Regions from separate parts of the Homo sapiens genome. Here region 1 is linked to region 2. The links are contacts of gene promoters, found by promoter capture Hi-C in blood cells and fetal thymus (Javierre and others, 2016). All regions are on one chromosome and are shown on one strand. Each heading gives the region's core, a stretch centred on a gene start or on the middle of the fragment in contact. The rest is flanking DNA. Distances are from core to core; before and after follow the strand shown.

Region 1 (3,591 bases), core at 1,061-3,560, 140 kb after region 2:
GAAATACAACTCAGGATGGCCACCAGAAAACAAGTACATAGCCACTGGAGGTCTTCAGGTTCTAGGTTATCTTGAATGTGTAAAGCAGCGAAGGTTTTAGGGAACAAATGAGCAGTGAGGGTTGAGGAGAAGGTTAGAATTAAGCAGAATAACTGGTATAGGGTTAGGGGGAAGAGGGAAAAAACAGCTTGGTATAAAACTTGAATTAGATACCAAAAAAATGGGTAGGAGGACATGAATAAGAAAGAAAGGATTAATTAGAGGAAAGTTAGGATTGAATAGCTAAGATGAGAACTAGGCAAGTTTAAGAGGTGTTCTGATGAAGGTACAGAGACGTGGGGCCTATGACTGCTCTACTGCTGACAGTATAATAACATTATATGCCATATAAAACAATGGGAGAAAAAAAGAAAAAAACACCAATAATCCTACCATCTTAAATAAGCATTGTTATTATTATTTTGGTACATCCTCTTTGTTATTGTTTTCTATGTGACTGCTTTCAATATCTTTATTGGATTTTAAAAATCGTAACAGAGCAATACATGCTAGTTGTAGAAAATAAAAACTGCACCAATCTCCCAACCCAACCTCCCAGAGGTATATAAATGGAATCATACAGCATATAGTCTTGAAAGTTAATAGTTTTGATGCCAGGTGTGATGGTGTACACATGATCCCAGCCCTTTGGGAGGCCAACGCGGCAGACTGCTTGAGCTCAGGAGTTTGAGACCAGCCTGGGCAACATGGTGAAACCCTGTCTCTACAAAAAATACAAAAATTAGCCAGCTGTGGTGGTGTGCTCTGGTAGTCCCAGTTACTCGGGAGGCTGGAATGGGAAGATCACTGGAGCCTGGGAGAACAAGGCTGCAGTGAGCTGAGACTGCACCACTTCCAGCCTGAGGGGCTGAGTGAGACCCTGTCTCCAAAAAAAAAAAAAAAAACAAATTGACATGACTATACTCATAGTACATAGTACATTGTATAATGTTTGTTACTTAACATTATACAAATGATTACTATGTCTTTTTATGTCTTTGTATTAATAACAATTAATGTCATTTTAACTTAGGTTTAAGTTCCATACAAACGTTAAAGGAAAAAGACTTTCAAGACCATTTAAAAAGAGGAAGATGATGGCTAAAAAGCACACGAAAAAGAGTGCCACATCAATAGAAAAATCAAAATTCAAACAAAAGTCAGATACCACTTCATACCTACTAAAAAAGGCACGCAATAACAAGCATTGTTGAGGACATGAAGAACTGGGAACCCTCATACGTTGCTGGTGGAAATATAAAATGGTATAGCCACTTTGGAAAGTGGTTTGGCAATTTCTTAAAAAGTTAAACAAACTAACCATATGAACTAGCAATTCCACTCACAGGTTTATCTGCCCAAGAGAAATGAGAACAAATGTTCATATAAAGACTTTAACGTTAGGCCGGGTGCGGTGGCTCATGCCTGTAATCCCAGTACTTAGGGAGGCTGAGGCAGATAGATTACCTGAGGTCAGGAGTTTGAGACCAGCTTGGCCAACATGGTGAAACCCTGTCCCTACTAAAAATATAAAAATTAGCTTACGTGGTGGCTCGAGCCTATAATCCCAGCTACTCGGGAGGCTGAGGCAGGAGAATTGCTTGAACCTGGGAGCTGGAGGTTGCAGTGAGCCAAGATCATGCCACTGCACTCCAGCTTGGGTGACAGAGCAAGACTCCATCTCAAAAACAACAACAACAAAAAACAAAAAAACAAAAACAAAAACAATAAAACAGACTTTAACATTAATGTTCATAGCAATATTATTCCTAATAATTCCAAAGGGAAAATGATCCAAATGTCCACCAACTGGTGAATGAACACAATGGAATATTACTCAGCAATAAAAAGGAGTGAAATACTGATACATGTGCAACATGGGTAAACCTCACAAGCATTATGTAAGTGAAAGAAGACAGAGGCAAGAGACTACATATTACATGACTCCATTATATGAAATGTCCAGAAAAGGCAAACTTATAAAGACAGAAAGCATATCAGAGGTTGCCTTGGGACTAGCTGGGGGTGGCAGTTGGGATTGACTGCACACAGCTTTGAGGAAAGTTTTTGAGTGATAGAAATGTTTTAAAACTGGATTCTGGTGGTGATGGCACAACTTTATAAATTTACTTAAACAATGAATTGTGGGCCAGGTGTGATGGCTCATGCCTGTAATCCCAGCACTTTGGGAGGCCGAGGCGGGTGGATCACCTGAGTTCAGGAGTTCGAGACCAGCCTGGCCAACAGGGTGAAACCCCATCTCTACTAAAAATACAAAAATTGGCCAGGCGTGGTGGCGGGCACCTGTAATCCCAGCTACTCGGGAGGCTGAGGCAGGAGAGTCACTTGAACCCAGGAGGCAGAGGTTACAGTGAGCCAAGATCATGCCACTGTACTCCAGCCTGGCAACAGAGTGAGACTCTGTCTCAAAAAAAAAAAAAAAAGAATTGTGGCCGGGCGCGATGGCTCAAGCCTGTAATCCCAGCACTTTGGGGGGTCGAGGCGAGTGGATCACCTGAGTTCAGGAGTTCAAGACCAGCCTGGACAACATGGTGAAACCCCATCTCTACTAAAAATACAAAAATTAGCTGAGCGTGGTGGCACAAGCCTATAATCCCAGCTACTCAGGAGGCTGAGGCAGGAGAATCACTTGAACCCAGGAGGCGGAGGTTGCAGTGAGCCAAGATCCTACCATTGCACTCCACTCCAGCCTGGGTAACAGACAAGACTCCAACTGAAAAAAATACCTGTACATTTACCAAAAAAAAAAAAAAAAAAAAAGAAGAAGATAAAGAGCCTGCATTGAACCACTTTTGGAATAATATTTTAAGAACAGTGAAATTTGGAATCTAGTACTGAAAAAATATTGGTATAACAAAATAATTTGTAAAGTCTCTTGGCTTTACAAATTATAACCACATTTGTTCTCACTATAGTATCATCCTGATCGAGCCTATGTCAAAGGACAAGTTGAAAACAGTCATATGTTTGAAAGGCACAAAATGAAATGAAATGAAATTGAATTACCATTATATATCTTCAAACAAAAAGAATGAAACAGAGGAGGGTGGGCCTCAGTTTGGTTTTTATGTTACTAGGCTGCTACCTAGTGGTCATTTATAAAATGGCAGGACTTGGGTTTTTGGTTTTTGTCTTGGATTTGTTGAGCCATGTCTCTACACCACAGCAAATACCTAAACACTTACCGATGTGTGGGTTAAATATCTGAATGCATTGCTGAATAATTTATGCTTTATAAAAATACTATAGGCTGGGCGCAGTGGCTCAGGCCTGTAATCCCAGCACTTTGGGAGGCCGAGGCAGGTGGATCACCTGAGGTCTCAGGAGTTCGAGACCAGCCTGGCCAACATGGCGAAACCCCATCTCTACTAAAAATACACAAAATTGCTGGGCGTGGTGGTGGGTGCCTGTAATCCCAGCTACTTGGGAGGCTGAGGCAGGAGAATTGCTTAAACCTGGGAAGTGGAGGTTGCAGTGAGCCGAGATCACGCCACTGCACTCCAGCCTGGGCGACAGAGCGAGACTCCGTCT
Region 2 (3,684 bases), core at 1,096-3,595:
TGTCACAACTCTACCTTGCATATGCAATCACAATGCACAAAATGTCGACTCCTCAAGGGCAAGAACTGTCTGCTTCATCCCTGTACCCCCAGGATCTAGCCCAGTGTCTGCCATTAATTCACTCTATAAATATACATTGGGACCTACCATGTGCTAGGCACAGTCCCTGACACACATTGTTTATTAAACAAAAGAATTTTTAAAACATCTACTCTGCCATAAGGTGGGATACAAGGTGAAAATGTGACAGCCTCTTAGGCCCATGCATTATTAGACAGAGATGGGGGTAGTGTATACATTTTGCTAAACTGAATGTGACCAAGTGCCACAATGTGTGGTTCAAACATTAAGCGTTCTGGGTGGTTAAGAAAAGGAAAGATGGAGGATGAGCTGAAATCTGAGCTTCTGAAGGTGCCAGGCCTCACATTTCTCTGAAGCTCCACTACCTTCCAAGGCCTAACATTAGGCTTGAATTCAAGGTTGATTGAATGAAATTGGGAAACTTCCCTGCGAGATTCTAGGGAAGAATTGGGATGGGGAAGAGAAAGGAATTACAGTGTGTATGAACAGAACCAGGAAAGGCTTGGCGGCAGAAATAAATTTTAAAAAAATTATTGTGTAAAATGTACATAGCACAAAATTTACCATTTTAACCTTAAAAATTTTTTTTTAGAGACGGTGTCTCACAATGTTGCCCGAGTGGTCTCAAACTTCTAGCCTCAAATAAAAAAAAAAAAGAAAGAAAAAAGAAAAAGAAGAAAAAGTGCCAGCCCAGTGGCTCAGACCTGTAATCCCAGTCTTTGGGGAGGCCGAGGCGGGAGAATCGCTTGAGCCCAGGAGCTCGAGACCCGCCTGGCCAACATAGGGAGACTCCAGTGTCTACAAAAAATAAAAACAATTAGCGAGAGTGTGGTGGCACACATCTGTGGTTCCAGCTACTTGAGAGGTGGAGGTGGGAGGATTGCTTGAGCCTGGGAGGTCAAGGCAGCAGTGATCCCTGATCGCACCACTGCACTCCGGCCTGGGTGACAGATCCTCATTTTGAGACCCTGTCTCAAAAATGAAAGAAAGAAAGAAGACAAAACAAATAAAAACTCCTGGCCTCAAGCAACACCATCCCTGCCCCCCGCCTCCCCCTGCCCCCCCAACCTCAGCCTTCTGAGTAGCTAGCATTACAAGTACCAGTTACCAGGCCTGGCAATTTTAAACATTTCTAAGTGTACCATTCAGTGGCATTAAGTACAATAACGTTGCACCACCAGGAATGAATTTTTAAGTCTCTTTCCAAAGATACCTGGCTAATCACACATTTGATAGTGGGGAAATAAGAAACATTTGTTGGTTGAAAGACGGATGCATGAGAGTAAAAGCAGTGTTCTTCCCCAGTGTGGGCAGTTTCCGCATAAGCATCTGCGATCCGTTTTGCATGTGAATGAAAGCCCAGTGACGGGCAGTGGGCACCAGTGCTGCTCCTTGCGTGTTTGAATCATGCTTGCTAAGTTTCAAGCAAGGAATGCTCCATTTCTCCCAACCAAGTCGGGCCTTTTGTATTCAAATCAAAAGCACAAAACTCTATTGTAGGGGGAAAAATGAGTCTTTATTGGCAATCAGTGGTGTCCACTTAGAGCAATAAATATTAAGTCTTAAGAGTACATTCTATATGAAGTACTATAGCTATTAATACACTTGGGTTTTGTTTGTTTTTTAAATGGGTGTCTTTGTGGGGTGCTGTTCTAATCAGTGCCACAGGCGCCGAGGAGAGGGAGGGAGCTGGGTAAGGAAGGAGACAGGCCCACCCTAGCCACCGGGGAGTGGGCAGAGTCAGGAGAGCGGGGTTCTGATTTTGCCCCTTCCCTGTGAATCCTTGGGCACCTCACCGAAACACTTAAGGCCTCTGTATGGTAGAGGTTGGAATCCGTGGCCTTTAAAAGTCCTTTCAGCTCCTTCGCTCCTATCTGCATAATTTTTGGCATAGGCCAAGCGGCTGGTTGGTGGGGTGTTTAGCTCAGGACGAGAGGCCGAACGAGCGGGGAGTTGGCTGAGGATAGACTAGACACGCGTGGGTGACTCCAGCGTGATGGAACGCGGGGTGTCCCGGGATAGGGCTAAAGCGATGGGATTTCCAGACGAGTCTTTCCCAGGCCAACTTTTAAAGGTCGGAGGAAAGTTTCTCGTGGGGTGGGGGCCCAGAGGGGATGGCAGGGTGGGCTCCGACGCCTCCTCGCCTTTAAGCGGGTGGCCCCGGCTCTTCCTCCGTTACCTGGAGCGGGGAGGGGCTTGGGAAAGTTTGTGTTTGTTGCTGGCAAAGCGCCGGATGGGAGGCGCGGGCGGGCGCTGCGGTTCTTCCCTTCTGCTTTCGGGAAGCGGTCGGGGCTGCACACTCGGATCGGCGGGGCCGGCTCCCGGGCCCGGCCGGCTGGAGGAGGGAGGGAAGGAGGCGGGAGGGAGCGAGCGGAGCCAGGGGCGCACGTACGCCCCAGCGCTGGGATTTATCGGCTCGCGAGGAGAGCGGAGCAGGCGCGCGGCCCAGGCGGAGGAGCGCCGACTCTGGAGCAGCCGGAGCTGGAAGAGGAGGAGGAGGAGAGGCGGCGGGGAAGGAGGAGGAGGGGGAGAGTCGCTCCCGCCGGGCGAGCATGGGGCGCCTGGCCTCGAGGCCGCTGCTGCTGGCGCTCCTGTCGTTGGGTGAGTGTGCGCGGGGCTCAGCGGGGCACACGGGGACTGGCGAGGCCCTGGAGGGCTCGGCGGGGCGCGGCTGCAGCGCGCGGCCTGGGGCGCCGAGGGTGCCCGGGCTGCTCCCGGGAAACCCGGCCGGGGTGCGCGGGTTGTTCGGCCCGGCGGGGAGCGGCCGCGGGGCCGCCCGGAGCCTGGCGCGAATCCGCTCGGGCCCCGCGCGCGGGGTGCAAGTGGCCGCTCCGCCAGGCCGAGCCTCGCCCCCAACATGTGCCGGGGGGAGTGGCCCGGGGCCGTCTTTCCCCCAGGTCTCCCTACCTGTTGGCCGCCGGGAGCCCGGCTCACCTTGAACTCCCGGCCCGGAAGGTGCTGCGGTCCCGGCCCGGGTCCTCGGCTCGAGAGCGGAAATGTGAGCCTTTGATATGCCCCGCCATAGCCGCCGCCGGCCGGGTCGCTCTTCACCCAACCCGCGCGGAGTTGCCTTTCCAGGGAAGCGAGAGAATCCTCCAACTTCCTTCCACGAAGGTCACAGGGTGGCCCGGAGCGTTACAATGGAAATCGGCGGGCGAGTCCTGCCGTCATTTTCGTCGTGGCTAGATCTTCTGCCTCAGTCTTTTCTTTTAGCTTTTCTTGAAGCTGCCTAGCTGCGTATTTATACACAAAGACCTAAAAGCCTGGCTTCTCCAACTTTTTCTACCTGTTACTTTCCCTCCCTTACTATCCCCTCGTCTTCCACCCTCCGGAAACCCTGGGTGCCCCGTGAGGTTTTGGCCCAGCGCCCTCCCCCCACCCAAGGAATCTTTTGTGGGTTTTTTCCCTCTCCATTTTCCATTCACTCCATACACAGACACCATCTTCACGTAGATCCACATGGTGATCCTAGCCAGCCACGGAAATATGTTTATTAAGTGCCCACCATGGTACCCCAGGGCCGACTCTTAAATGTTTTGATATTCTTGGATCCTTGTTGTCAGTGTCAACCAGGACAAGATGATTCCTGTGACCTGGCCTGGG

Evidence for each region. Contacts are between HindIII fragments. The CHiCAGO score rates a contact against its expected background, and 5 or more counts as called.
Region 1: a fragment that was not itself captured here is called in contact with the fragment with the promoter of PTGFRN in region 2 in 11 of 17 cell types (M2 macrophages, naive CD4 T cells, non-activated CD4 T cells and 8 more); the score reaches 12.8 in M2 macrophages.

What each region holds. Positions count from the first base shown.
Region 1 is chr1:117,052,385-117,055,975 of GRCh38, forward strand. The region is part of intron 1 of CD101-AS1 (CD101 antisense RNA 1); the gene reads right to left. Among named protein-coding and RNA genes, the nearest start is that of CD101-AS1, 5.3 kb to the right of the region's middle. The HindIII fragment of the contact is 6,290 bases long and covers 1-3,591 here.
Region 2 is chr1:116,907,571-116,911,254 of GRCh38, forward strand. PTGFRN (prostaglandin F2 receptor inhibitor) reads left to right here and starts at 2,346. Exons shown (of 9, transcript NM_020440.4): 1 at 2,346-2,682. The coding sequence starts at 2,634. The HindIII fragment of the contact is 4,060 bases long and covers 1-3,684 here.